4 separate regions of the Homo sapiens genome follow, and all the other regions are linked to region 1. Evidence: promoter capture Hi-C in 16 types of primary human blood cells and fetal thymus (Javierre and others, 2016). All regions are on one chromosome and are shown on one strand. Each heading gives the region's core, a stretch centred on a gene start or on the middle of the fragment in contact. The rest is flanking DNA. Distances are from core to core; before and after follow the strand shown.

Region 1 (3,587 bases), core at 367-2,866:
TTTCTCTGCTCATCTATGCAGTAGGCTGAGGAGAATGTTCTGCCAAGTGCTGTGCTAAGTTCTGGGATTACAAAAATGAATTAGACCATTTGATCACACTTAAGCAGTTCAGACTCTAGGTAGTAAAGACCTAAAAACAGAAAATCATCTTAAGTATTTGCTCAATGGCTCTTTTTCCATGGGAAAAGAGGGCAAGGACTTCATTCTATGAGGACATGACTGTCTGATTCACGGCTGTCATCACCAGCACCTAATACATAGTCACACTCACTATTTGTTAAATACATGAATACATGCTAAAATAGGGTTTTATATATAGAGGGAGTATGGGAGCCCCCAAAAGGGACATTTGCTTAGTTTTATGTGTAAATATCGGGCTGGAGGGTGAGGTAAGGGTGTTATTTCAGAGGTATCAGGAAAAATTCCTTAAAGATGAGAACTGAGCTGAGTTTTGGGAGACAGAGGAAATTAGGTAAAAGTGGAGTTGGGGGTTGCTTAGGAGTTCCCATATCTTGTGGCGGAACTTCAAGCAGTTTCGGAGTGCCAAGACAACAGCCTGTAAATGTAAGCAGAAGAAAGATCTGGAAGGGCTTTCTAGGCTGTTTTATATATTTCCATTTTAGTATCCATATCCATATGCTTATTTTAAACACTTGTCCATAGATCCTTACTACACTGGTAGCTCATTGATGCTAAGGACTGCATGTAGCTTGTTATCCAGGTGCCCAGCATAATAATGGGGATATGGTAGTTCCTCAAAAGTTAATGCAGAAATGAAAGAACAAACGGAAGAATAACAAGTAACGGCATTGTGAGCACTCTCCAGTGATGAAGTCATCAGATGGTAGGGATGTCAGGAAAGGGGACTATACCAGGTTAGACAGAGACCTACTCAGCATCTTAACTAACGGTGAGGTAAGTTTAGTAAGCCTCACATCTCAGAAATAAAATCAGAGGGAGGAATGTTGGGAGTTTCAAACTGCTTTCCTAGCGGGAAGGTGAAAAAACACAAAATATAGTGGGGTGCGGTGCCTCATGCCTGTAATCCCATTTTGCTGAGGTGAGAGGATTGCTTGAGGCCGAGTACGAAACCAGCCTGGGCAACATAGCGAGACCCCCGTCTCTACAAAAGAAAAAATGTGAAATTAATGGCAAGCGCCTGTAGTTCCAGCTACTGGGATGAGGAGGGAGGATCGCTGGAGGCTGCAGTGAGCTACGATCGCTCTAGCCTGGGCGACAGGATGAGACCTTGTCTCAAATAGAGATAGACAGACAGACAGACTTCAGAATTTATTAGGGTTTGTAATTTCCAGGTTCCAAAGCACAGCAAGGGAAAGGGCCTGGCTGGGTAGTACGTTACACCCGGAAGTAAAGAGACGCATACACCGTTGGGTGCACTTTATAGTCTGGCTGGCAAACGAGCGACACCGACGCGCAGAGTTAAGTGCTGGGACTTCCCAAGCCTGGAAAGCAGACCGTGTCTCTGCAACTACGCGGCTGCCACGAGCGCTGAGCGGCCGGGCATTTGGCCTCGAGGAGGAGGCACTGTAAGGGCGGCGCAAGAGGGCGGAACGCGGGACGCCAGGCACCCTAGCTCCCGACGGACGCAGTTTTCAGTTGCACGGGCGAGCTCCGGGCCGGCTGCGGAGCGACTCCCCGCCGCCAAGTGGGCGGCGTGGCTGTCGGGAAAGAAGGGCTGGGGCCTGCCGTTCTTCCTCCCGAGTATCCCCTCCAGCTGGACGACCCCACGCTGCAGCACGGGCTTCCGGCTTCTCTCCTCAGTGGCCAATTCGAGGGCACAGCGGGCTCCGGAGGCGCGGCGGCAAGCCTATCCCGCCTCCCAACCACAGCCTCCAGCACCCGAGAGAACGGCCGCCCACAGCACACGTTCTCCGGACAGGAGGGCGAAGGCCCAAGACCTGGAGAGGTGGGCTCGAGGGAAAGATCTGGGTCCCACCACTACTTCCTGGAGACGCCGGGGAAAGCAGGCCATCCTTCGAGCCACCCATCTCTTCTCCGATTGGTTAACTGCCTTCTTATTGCGCTCCGCTGGCTGGTGATTGGTTGGGATGCACCGTCTATCACCTGCTTCCTTGTGAGAATCTAGGTCTCTAAGGGAAGCGTTACTTGAGGCTCGGTTGGGAAGAGGTTGGTTGGGCCTCTTGAGCCCACTTTATTTATCGTAGTGGGGATCGTCCCCCGGCGCGAGCTTCCGTCGCAACGGCCGGGAAAGAAACCAGTAGCGGGACGGAGGGCGGGGGTGGCAAGAAAGTCAAGGTTTAGAAGTAAGCCGGAGACGCCTAACCCTGGTAACATCCGAATGGGAACGGGATAGGAAGGAAGGCCTTTGAGAGAGGAGGCGTAAACCCAGGAACAGTGACAGTGTAGGACGAAAGGCCTAAGTTTGTTGCGGAAGGTAGGGGCCTTGCGGGAGGTTTTCGTGACCTAATTGTATGGGGATCTAATTTTCTAGATGTGTCTAACAAAATCCACTGGAGAATTTGCTTTGGCTTTGCAGCAGAGTGGGGAGACTACCACCCGTTCCTGGCCTTTAAAGAAACAGTTTATTGAATTATTCAACTCTCTTTTATTGCTTCAGATGGGCAGCTCTCAAAAAAGGCACAAACAATTGAAGGATGGATACCATGGCATATGTTAAAAGCGTGTTGAAAGGAAAATAAGGTATTCGCTTTGTTTTCATTGTGATTAACTGTATAAGAAAATTACCTTTAAGGAGAAGCTCAAGTTTTAAATAATATTAGGGTAACTTGATTTTATGATAGGCTTCAACTTGTAAAATTATTTATTACAAAAATCCTATTATTGCTGTACCTACGAAATATGCTCTTTGCTAATTATGGTCTTAATCTGAAGATAGAGATCTTGAGTTTTTAGTAGTGTTAATTCATATTTGAGTGGATAATGTTACTAGGTCATTTGTTCAAAATGACATAATAAAATAACCACAGTGAAAAAAATCCTTGAATTTGTAATTTAGTGTTACAGGTGAAATTGAATAGTTGCTTACTCCAACAGTATTTTAGACTTGTAGGCTAATTTCACCTTATATTTAAAGCAGCTTGCTTATTAAATACCTAGTGTATTTCGAGAGGCAGAGTTGCACAGTTGCTTCACTGGTAGCCTAGCCATTTGAGCCTCCAGCCTCTACTGAGTCAGGTGCTGTATTACTCATACCCTTTAGTGACATGCCAGAAATTGTCGAGGAATAGTTTATTTCATCTGCAGAACACCCAAATTAGCTCTTAACAGCAGACCTGGTCCTACCCTGGAAAACTCTAATCAAGGATTGGGGATGAGATTTGGGCATCTAGATTTTTAAAAATACCCTTAAGTGAGTTTGAGAACCATTGCTTTAGTGTGACTTACTGAATAGATGTATTTAAGAAATTCTAAAATATTTGTGAAACAAACATCTTTCTCTCTTGATTTCCATGTAATTTAAAAGTGAGCTTCTCAGGAGTGACACTTAAATATAATCCAAAAATAGTGGTTTCTTAGGCAAAGTCAGGAAGTTTCACTGGCATTCTGAAACTCCTGGGACTAACCATTCCAGGCTTAAGGATGAG
Region 2 (3,587 bases), core at 677-3,176, 950 kb after region 1:
TGCATGTTTGTTGCAGCGCTGTTCACAATAGCAAAGCTATGGAATCAACCTAGGTGCCCATTAGCAGTGGATTGGATAAAGAAAAAGTGGTGCATATTCACCACAGCCATAAAAAGAGAACAAAATCATGGCCTTTACAGCAACATGGATGCAGGTGGAAGCCATTATTCTAAATGAATTAACACAAACAAAAAACCGTATACTGCGTGTTCTCACTTATAAGTGGGAGCTTAACATTGGGTACATACGAGCACAAAGATGGGAACAATAGACATTAATAGACTAATAGAGGTGGGAGGGAGGGAAGTAGAGGAACAAGGGTTGAAAAACTACCTCTTGGGTACTGTGTTCACTGTCTGGGCTATGGGTTCAGTCAAAGCTCAAACCTCAGAATCATTCAGTATATTCATATTACAAACCTGCACATGTACCCACTGAATTAAAAAAAAAAGTATTATTCAAGAAAACAAATAAAGAGTTCTAGGTTATAATGCTTTGTCAGATGTGTGTGTCATAGATAGCTTTTCCCAGTGTGTGGCTTGTCTTCTCTGTTTTTTATTTTATATGTCTTTCAGTTGAAGTTTATATTTTTAATGTTATAGATTTTTCATTTTTTTCTTTTATTGTTTGTGCTCTGTTGTGACTTAAGAAATCCTTTCCTATGTCAAAGTCATAAAGGTTCTTCTATATTTTCTTCTAAAAGCTTAAGTTTGATCCTGTAAGTTGTTAATACATCTGGGAAATATTTTGGTGTATGATGTGACTAGGGATTCATTTTTATGTTTTCGTATAGACGACCGGCGCCATTTATTGACTGTTTCATTCCATTCGTCTTTAGTACCAGCTCTGTCATAAAAACATCTTCCATGTATGTGAGGCTCTGCTTTTGAGTTTTCTTTTCTATTCGTTTGGTATACTGACTACACTGTACCACACTGTTTTATTGACTATAGCTTTTAAATAAATTTTGATATCAAGTAGAGCATACCCTCCCAACTTGTTCTTCAAAATTGCCATGGCTATTTTGGATTCTTTGTTCTTCCTTTTCTGTTTTAGAATTCATTTAGCACACATTTATTGAGCATATACAGTGTGTTTCATATCACTATTCTAGATATTTTGGAAACAATAGCCAATAATAACAGGTACAAATTCTATCCTCATGGAGCCAACATTCTAGTGCTGAAAGATATTGATAACATCACCAATAAGTAGGTAGATAAGTAAAATACATAGTGATAAGTGCTAAGCAGAAAAAGAAGTAGGAAAGGTGGTTAGAATATGGGGCTTGTGTCTCTGTGCCTGAGAGGAAGAGACTTGGGCATGTTTCTGTGCCACTAGCTCTGCCAGCTTTTAGAACCTCCACTTTATAGATGAAGAAGCTGAAGCTCAGGCAAGTGGCAATTCATTCATTGTTACACAGGCAGTGTAGAGTAGTAAAATGAGCTCACGTAGACTGTGTTGTCAGGTAGCTTTGGGTTCAAATGTCAGCTCTGCTGTTCACTGCTTGGGTGACTATGTCAGGGTGCTTTTGGCTGTAAGTAAATGAATACCTGACTGAACATGGTGCCAAACCTTGCAAAGCAGGAGAGGTGGGTAGGCTTTCCTCAGTAGCCCCATTGCTTATCAGGGAGGAGAAGCTCTCTCAGAAGGCCCCCAGCTAACTTTCCCTAACATCTGATTGTTTGAAAATCCGGACACTTGGCTACTCCTACCTGAAAAGGAGGCAGAGAATGTAGATCCTAGTATTTTTTATCTCTTGAGGGAAAAGGATGTTGCAAGTAAGGAAGGGGGGGAGGAATGGCAGACCAACAGTGTCTGCCAAAAAGTATGTAACTTTCGAGCTTAGCACCCACATAAAATGGGTATATAGCATCAGTCATCATGTAGGGCTTTTGTGAGTCTTAGATGAAAGAAAATATGAAAAACATCTGTGCGTAAAACATAGTAGTGGCGTAAATCATAGCTGCTCATACTATTTTTCTAAGCAGTTGAATCAAGATTAGAGGTCAATTATGCCTCCCAGTCCAGAGATTGATGTTGCTCTGTGGTACACCCCTGTACTGCACATACTGTCATACTGTTCTCTTCTCTTTCTCTCTTTGATTGTACTCTTCTGATTTCCCCAAGAAGGCTAACCAATTGATATATGATTCTATATCAGCTGTTAAGGAAACTCACTTGAGATACTGATCTTGGAGAAGTTGTATTCCCTAGAGGCACTGGATCCCTTCTTCATCCAGTGTTTGTCCAAGAATTGCCAGGAATTTTACCTAGCAGTACCTTCTGAAATAATTAGTCATATTATCATCCACTCCATCTACCCCTCCTTTGTCCACTTGCTTCAGTATTTTCTCTATTATCCATCTCGTAGAGATATAAATGAAGGCTTCCCGTATAGCTATTCCCTCAGCTGCTGGGAATGTAGTTTGAGGGGCAACAAAAAGATATCTGTGTTATTCTCTACTCTCCTATTGTTGTCTTTTAAATGCTTTCTTATCAGTATATTCCCTTATGTTTGCCCTAAATGAAGTTTGTTTAATATACTAGAGCCATAGAAATGAACATTTTAGATCCAGAAGGGGCCGTATCAACCTTATATCCTTTTTCTCACTTTACAGTTGATTATGTTTTCAAAATCACATAACTAGTTAGTGGTAGGACCAGGTTTCTTCATCATTTTCTTCCTGCAAATACTTTTGGGTTTTTATAATTAAAATCAGAACAGTGATGTACAGGTTGAATATCCCCAATCCAAAAATTCAGCACTGACATGATGTTCAAAGGAAATGCTCATTGGAGCATTTCAGATTTCAGATTTTCAGATTAGGGATGTCAATTGATAAGTATAATGCAAATATACCAAAATCTTTAAAAATCCAAAATTTGAAATACTTCTAGTCCCAAACATTTTGGATAAAGGGTTCTCAACTTGTAATATTACAGTTAGCTTTTATTCCTTATTCTCTGTTTAAATGTTATTATTAGATCATTTTTAGTAACTTGTCACAGGCGCATTAATATAAGTGATAATGGTGCTAAATCTTAGCCGTAAGGACTATATATGTGTGTGTGTGTGTTAATTATTTGTTCTCTATGTAGTTTTAATTTCCATTGACAACTGCTTCTCTCATTGTTTTTCAAGCTTTTCTTGATTATTTAAATGCATTTAATTTTGCAGGTGAACTTTAGATTTAAGATGTATAATTAATATTAACATATAATGTAATAATTACATAATATATGTGTATTATATAAATAATCATCCCTCACTACAAAACAAAGCAGATTGGAATTTTTAAACTGAAATTTATGTTGAATTTTTAGATTAATTTGGGATAAATGGATCTCTTGCATGATTAGGAGCCTATGATCTTTTATTCTCCAGAAAAGTTTTCTATAAATATTTTAATAGGAGTGTTATTAAGAAAAAGTAGGCATTTTTAGTAGCAAACAAAATATTATTGGTAGTAGGTGAGAACAATAAGCATATGTTTAAAATACCATCAAGTATTGAGTTTATAGTAGGACTTTTTATTCATTCATTTAGTAAACTCTTATTGTGATAAAGGAGGTATCAGGGATGA
Region 3 (3,587 bases), core at 537-3,036, 950 kb before region 1:
GTTCTAAAGCCAGATTACCCTTTCCAAGCTCAGGGTGCAAAAGTGTGGAGTTTCAGCCAAACTTATTCTCCAACTGCATTACATATGGTAAAGAACACTCAGTACAACACCTAGCACATAGATTCAAGAATGTCTCTTTTATGTTTGTGTCTCTCCAATCGACCATAGGCTGTGGAGACAAGGCATTGTGAGGCTCTGTGATTAGGTTTCATGACTTTACCTGTGAATTTAGATGGCTCCAACATCAACTAGACATGACTCCAGATAATTCTATCAGAAATCCATTTTACTTTTTAAAATTTAATTTAATTTAATTTTTGAGACGGAATCTTACTCTGTCGCCCAAGCTGGAGTGCAGTAGCATGATCTCGGCTCACTGGTTTTTCCCAGGTTCATGCGACTCTCCTGCCTCAGCCTCCCTAGTAGCTTGGATTACAGGTGCTCGCCACCATGCCCAACTAATTTTTGTAGTTTTAGTAGAGATGGGCTTTCTCCATGTTGGCCAGGTTGGTCTCAAACTCCTGACCTCAAGTGATCCGCCCGCCTTGGCCTCCCAAAGTGCTGGGATTACAACAGGCGAGAGCCACTGTGCTGTATTTTTGAGATACTGTTTCAGTCTGTCGCTCAGGCTACAGTGCAGTGGTTCAATCATGGCTCACTGCAACCTGGATATCTCGGGCTTAAGTTATCCTCTTACTTCGCCTCACAAGTAGCTGGGACTATAGGTATGCGCCACCATGCACCACGTATTTATTTTTATTTTTAGTAGAGACAAGGTCTCACTATGTTGCCCAGGCTGGTCTTGAACTCCCTGGTCTCAAGGAAGTTGGAAGCCATCCTCCTGCCTCAGCCTCCCAAAGTGCTGGGATTACAGGCCTGATCCACTGTGCCCAGCCTAGAAATTTATTTATTTATTTATTTTTGAGAGAGTCTCACTCTGTCACCCAGGCTGGGGTGCAATGGCACAATCCCAGTTCACTGCAATCTCCACCTCCAGGATCCAATCTATTCTTATGCCTCAGCCTCCTGAGTAGCTGGGATTACAGGCGTACACTGCTACGCCTGGCTAATTTTTGTATTTTAGTAGAGACGGGATTTCACCACGTTGGCCAGGCTGGTCTCCAACTCCTGACCTCAAGTGATCCACCTGCCTCGGCCTCCCAAAGTGCTGGAATTACAGGTGTGAGCCACCATACTCAGCCTAGAAATTCATTTTAGAAAGGCCTTGTTCTTATATAAACTTATATGTAAAGCCAGTGGCTTTTGTTCCTGTGACATGTTCGGATTAATGGACAAGGAGGCATATGGGTGGTTAGCGGGATGGAGGCAGGTCTAAAATTCTGGCACATCAGACCTGTTTGCTGGAATAGAACAGCAAGTGGGAAGGACAGGATGACCACAGCTATTTATCAGGACGGGCACACAGATGGGCATGGTGACACTCGGACAAGGCCCAGGTAGGCCCTAGAGGTCTAAGATGTAGAAACCCTTGTCCAAACAGGGGGTAGAAAAGAGCAAGAAAGAATTCAGGTGGGTGATGCTTGCAAGTATAGAGAGGAAAGCCCCTGGCTGGGGTATCAGGGCTCTTGGCTTCCATGGAGGCAGGCGCTTGGAGATCCAGTCCGGCTACCATGGGGCTTGGCTATATTCAATCTGCATTCCCCCCCCAAGCAAGCTTATAATGGAATCACTATGGAAACAGTATTCATGTACCAGAAGTCTATTTTTCACTTAAATTTTGTTTGAATGCTTTTTGTTTTTGAGTGCTTTGAACCCTTGAGGTGAGGCATTTCTGATTTTACAGCTCTGCCTGAATTCAGATCCTCAACCCCACTGAATTAGGGGAACCCAGAAAAGTACCCCATCACGAGTTCAATCAGAAAATATCACAAGCTTTCTAACATAATAATTTATGAAGTTATTCTACTCACTTGAACTACTTTCTCAAATAGGAAAAAATAAAGCTGAGCTGCCAGGCATGAAGAACAGGGTGCAAATATGAATTTTATAAAAGGAGAAAGAGGAACTACCCATGCCAGTAGCCAGCACTGCCTAAGGATTTCTCACAGGGCATTTTTCTTGCTTGCGGGCTTCCTGTCTCTGGTAATATCATCATCACTGCTGGCTTGAGATCCTCCCTATTTTGCAGCTCAATGTGCAGATATTTAGAAGCCTATTATAAATTTATCGCCAACAGGCCAACAGGTTTCGCTCCTCTCCTTCCCCCATTACTTATCTTTCTTCTTAATTCAAAGAGTTAAACATGTGTAATTTGTTCTTTGCCTCTTCATTTTTGTTTAATTATTTTGTCTTTTTCTAAGTTGTGTTTGACTCCGGTGATTCATCCAATATACGTAAAAAGAAACAAACCAAGTGCTTGGGACGCATACCCGGGTTATCTTAACTGTGCAGAGCAGGTTTCCTCCCACTCCGCCCGTAGTTACCCAGATCATCGCCTCCGTTTTCTGTTTAGGCAGCGGGGGCTCGCCGTCCCCTCGCCCGCGGTGGGTGTCGCAGCTGGTCCCCTCCAGGGTTCTCCCAGATCGCCGCCGCCACCCCCGCGCCTCCCCGCCGCACCCCTTCCTACGCGGGGGTCTCTGGGTCCCCGGCTCTAGGACCGCAGGGACGCGGGCAGGAGGTGGCGCCCGCCTTCGGTCCTGCCCTCTGCCGCGCGCGGGGTGGGGACGGACCGGAGTTCCCCGGCTCGCGCACAAGGGCCGCGGAGGGGTTGCCGAGGGGTGGGCGGGGCTGCGCCGCCTGGCCGCGCCGCTGCCTGGCAGGCCGGGCATTAGGGCCTCGGCGGAGCCCGCTCCCCTGTGCGCTGGGCGGGGTGGGCGGAGGGCGGCTTCGCGTGCAGGCGCGGGCCCGGAGGCAGCGGCTGCGCCCTGCGCCGGGGCGGAGCCGGGGGCGGGCCGGCGGCCGGCAGGCGGGGGCTGGGGCCCGAGGCCGGGAGTGCCTGAGCGCCGGCGGCGACGACGGCAGCGGCGGCCCAGCGGGCTCGGTGGTTGGGTCCGCGGCGGCTCGGGGTCCGCCCGCGGGCTGCGGTGCGAGCGGGCGGCCCGGCTCCCCTCCTCCCCCGCCCGCCGCCGCCGCTGTGATTGGGTGGAAGATGGCGCTGGCCGGATGGAAATCCTAATGACAGTCTCCAAATTCGCCTCCATCTGTACCATGGTAGGTGGCGGCGAGCGGGCGGCCGGGGCTGCCGGGACCTCTCGGGCGGGCGGGCGGCGCTGGACCCGCCTCTCCCAGTGGCCGCTCGCGGGGCCTAGCGCCGGGGCGGGCGGGCGGGCTGGGCGGCCCGGGCGGCCCGGGCGGGGGCGGTTGGACGGCGCGCAGGCGGGGAGCGCGGGGGTGAGCGGCCCAGGCGGCTGGGGAGGGGGCGCCGCCTGGTGGGCCAGGGCGGCGCGAGGGTAGCGGTGAGTGGGCGACCGTGCCAGACGCGGCGTCGGGCGGGCACCGGCCTCCGGGAGTCCCCGGCTGAACTGCTGGGGTCCGCTCGGGACGCGGGGACGAGGGCCGAGGCGCGCCCGGCCTGTGCCGGGGTGAGGGGTGGGCGCGCGCGAGCCAGAGCGCGGCCCCGGGCCGGG
Region 4 (3,587 bases), core at 298-2,797, 930 kb after region 1:
ATTCTAGAGTAGGCCATCTTGTCTTTCCTTGCTTCTTATATTGTAAGCATTCTGTTAGAGAACTGCATCTTTTGCTGATTTGCCAGCAGGATGATGACATTGTTAATGTCATAATCAAACTGAATTATCCAAACAGAAATAGCACTGTAAAAAATTTACTTTTTTTTTTTCTTCCTTTTTGAGACAGGGTCTGGCTCTGTGCCCAGGCTGGAGTGCAGTGGCACCATCTTGGCTCACTGCAACCTCTGCCTGTCTGGCTCAAGCGATCCTCCCACCTCAGCCACCCGAGTAGCTCGGACTACATAAAGGTGTCCACCACCATGCCCGGCTAATTTGTTTATTTGTAAAGATGGGTTTTCACCGTGTTGCCCAGGCTAAAACTTCTAATTTGTGTTTGCATTAACATATCTAAAATAGGTTTGCTTTGGTGGGGGTGTTCAGATCAGGATAACCATTTGAGAACCTCTCTCAGCAGCGGTTCTAAGACAGAAAAGAAGTGGGAATCTGAAGTCTATTGAAAGGAGTCTGTAATATCTCCAGTTCTGGTCCTCTGAAATATCCAGAAAAGAGGTTATCTTTTAGAAATTACATGTAACCATTTGCCTTCAATCACAGTCTTTATCTTGAAAATTATTCTCAGAAAAGGTCTTAAATATTTTAGGGTTTTAAATATTTGAGTAGTGTCCTTCCACTTTAAAAATTCATTAAGTTCTCAAGTGATTGAACAACAGCAACAACCAAATGTATATAGAGAGATAAATCAATAATGCAAATTATAGGATGACTGTCAAAACAAGGTATATGGGTGTTCATTGTAATAATTTTACAACTTTTCTGTAGGTTTGAAATTTTCAAACTACAAAGTTAAGGGGGAAAAGCTTAAAGTTAAAACAAAAGTTCCCAATCACAGGTCAGAACAGTAATTGTCTATTTCCTGATGAATTTTTTCACTCATCACCCAATAAATGAGAAAAATAAATGTAAGGAGTTATCCATAAAGCTAAATGTATGTAATTCAAACTATAGTCATTTATTTTGAAATACACCCTTCCTATTGGCAGAGATGGGACCTGAAAAAGTTGCTTTTATGACTTGACAACTTTAGTGGATAAGGAAGGCTGAGAAGAGAAACTAAGCAATGTCAACATAAGATAAATGATGGACGCTGTCTTCTGGCCACCAATATTTATTCTTTCCTTCCTTCTTCCTTAAAACCTCAGTTTTCTCCAAAGTGGCAAACTAACCAGATAAACAACTATATGTCTCCAGCTTCCTCTATAGGTAGAGGTGGGTAGGAAACATGAGATGAGACTTCCAGAATCACTCATTTTCTTGGGGACAGATAGCTGGCATACATCTGTTTTGACTTTCTTCTCCTTTCTTCCTACTACCTGGAACTTAGACACAATGGCTGGATCTCCAATAGCCATCTTGGTCCATGAGTGACTTTAAGAATGGAAGTCATATGCAAAGGAGGGTATCACAAAAAAATAGTATGAGCTTAGGTCGTGATGGTATACTGTAGAGGCACCATACCAGCCCTATACTACCTACCTTCAGATTTCTTTTAAATGAGAGAAAAGTCTATTTGTATGTTATTTAGTCCATTAGAGCTGAATCTTTATTATTCATAACTAAATGTAATATACCTTTTTAGTAGGAGTTCACCCCAAAAGATGAATTTTACATGCGTTACTGAGGAAACCTAGGAAATATCCAAGATTGACAGAAGTCAATAATATATATAGGGCTGGAATATAACAATAAAAATGCCACCAACAACCTATTATGTAATTGCCTTGAAACACGCCAACAGAAAGGCAGTGGTCAACATGTAGTCTCAAAAAAATGGGAGCCAAAGAGGAACAATATATCTGCACTTATTGCTCTCACCTTTCATGGAAACAAGTCATTGTGCTTGACGGATACACATATTCTGGTCACTAGACAGATGTCCACCTCCATGAAGCAGGAGTATATTCATGTCTTTTCCATGTCATGGATAAAAGTTCCTTAAGCCTGCCCAATTCCCTTTGCTCTGAGCAGTTTCCCCATAATCTAATTAGACCTCTTTTATTGCTAAGAATAGGAACTCTCTCAAGGTAGTTCAAGCATAAGTGTGTGCATATATGGGGGAGGTGTGGGAACACAGAGTTATTGTATAGACACAGACAAGTTTCAAGGGAATCCAGAAAAACAGGAGTAGCCAAGCTTTGTGTATATCAGAAACCAAGAGTCAGCTTGTAAGAAATGAACTAGAGAGAGCTGCACCTACTTCAGGGAATTAAGGCATTCTGCAAGCCCCAGAGGTTGGATGAAGGGTTAAGTAATTGACTGAGTTGCCCAAGGGAGAAAGAGGAGGCATTCAGGCATCTGCTGCACACAAATCAGTGATGCCAGATTATAAAAGGTTTTGTCAAGTAAGACCTGATGCTCGGGGAGCCAAAACAGGAGCTAGAAAGCAAGCAGGAAGAAAGTGGGCCAAGACGGTCAAAACAGATTCTCCTACCCCGTCCCACCTCCATCCCACTGTCATCAAACCTGGGTGGTATAGGGAAAAGGAGAAGCTTTGAACTGGATACATTTTGAAGTATATATGTCAGATTACTCTAAAATATGAGAGAAACAGGTACTTCTCCAGGATCAACTCAAGCTCCTATTGAGGAGAGGTGAAGAGACAGCCAGCAAAGCAGGCTTGAAGGGTAGCGGTGGAGCAAAAGAAAGATACTGTCTGCTCGCACCCCACAGAACCCAGTGTTCAATAAAGTGGTCATGTAGACTAGAGCATGACTAACCACTGTGTCGGCCAATGTCAATAGCAAGTGCAAAAACCCAGACTCAGATACCACTTGGCTAAATCATCAAGGTTTACTTATCTAAAGGATTTAGAGAGAAGGACACTTAGAAAAAAAAATGGCTAGTAACCTTTTTAAAGACAGAATGAGGAGCCAGTCTCTGAACCCCTAGATCCTGAAAGAGTAAGCATCACACCAACCTTATGGAAACATAATACTAGTATGTCTTCCTCCAGCCCAGCATGAGTATAACCTGGACATGTGCACTTCCTTGGGCCAGGTGTACCTCCTCAATTGCAGAGGTGCAGAGTACATAATGTGATCACTTGAATACAGTATACAGTGCATTCAGACAAATTTCATCCTGAGACAAGTTCAGTCTCCCCAAATGAACACAGCCTGATCCAAGCACATTTCTGAACTCCATGGTGAAGATCTAGAATGAGGATCGACAGGTATCTAGATATTTCTGGGAACTCTAGGATTTATTCTGCTTAACATGTACATACACACAACTATTATTTATTGAGCATTTATTTATTATTATTATTTTTAGAGATGGGGGTCTTCCTCTGTCACCTAGGCTGGAGTGCAATAGTGCAATCATAGCTCACTGCAGCCTCGAACTGCTGGGCTCAAGTGAGCTGAGTGAGCTCTGATTGCTCCTGCCTTAGCCTCCTGAGTAGCTGGGACTATAGGCAAAGGCTGCTATATCCAGCTATTGAGCACTTATCGAGGCCAGCTACTATGCTAAGTACTTCTGTTCATTATTTCATTAACCTGTACAAATAA

What was found. The method cuts DNA at HindIII sites, captures the fragments that hold promoters and counts their contacts. A CHiCAGO score of 5 or more calls a contact.
Region 2: a fragment that was not itself captured here is called in contact with the fragment with the promoter of RNF6 in region 1 in 1 of 17 cell types (neutrophils); the score reaches 7.6 in neutrophils.
Region 3: a fragment that was not itself captured here is called in contact with the fragment with the promoter of RNF6 in region 1 in 1 of 17 cell types (total CD8 T cells); the score reaches 5.2 in total CD8 T cells.
Region 4: a fragment that was not itself captured here is called in contact with the fragment with the promoter of RNF6 in region 1 in 3 of 17 cell types (non-activated CD4 T cells, total CD8 T cells and fetal thymus); the score reaches 6.3 in non-activated CD4 T cells.

The regions. Positions count from the first base shown.
Region 1 is chr13:26,220,343-26,223,929 of GRCh38, reverse strand. It overlaps RNF6 (ring finger protein 6), which reads left to right and starts at 1,616. Exons shown (of 5, transcript NM_005977.4): 1 at 1,616-1,927; 2 at 2,600-2,682. RefSeq lists enhancers at 1,556-1,935, 1,081-1,962, 1,963-2,844 and a silencer at 2,386-2,435. The HindIII fragment of the contact is 7,611 bases long and covers 1-3,587 here.
Region 2 is chr13:25,269,312-25,272,898 of GRCh38, reverse strand. The region is part of intron 2 of MTMR6 (myotubularin related protein 6); the gene reads left to right. Among named protein-coding and RNA genes, the nearest start is that of MTMR6, 16 kb to the left of the region's middle. The HindIII fragment of the contact is 2,442 bases long and covers 706-3,147 here.
Region 3 is chr13:27,171,176-27,174,762 of GRCh38, reverse strand. USP12 (ubiquitin specific peptidase 12) reads left to right here and starts at 2,952. Exons shown (of 9, transcript NM_182488.4): 1 at 2,952-3,171. The coding sequence starts at 3,124. It overlaps USP12-DT (USP12 divergent transcript), which reads right to left and starts at 2,504. Exons shown (of 2, transcript NR_046548.1): 1 at 2,391-2,504. RefSeq lists an enhancer at 2,176-2,365 and silencers at 2,426-3,065, 3,206-3,255, 3,316-3,405, 3,476-3,545, 3,576-3,587. The HindIII fragment of the contact is 218 bases long and covers 1,678-1,895 here.
Region 4 is chr13:25,294,638-25,298,224 of GRCh38, reverse strand. No RefSeq gene overlaps it. Among named protein-coding and RNA genes, the nearest start is that of NUP58, 5.2 kb to the left of the region's middle. The HindIII fragment of the contact is 1,333 bases long and covers 881-2,213 here.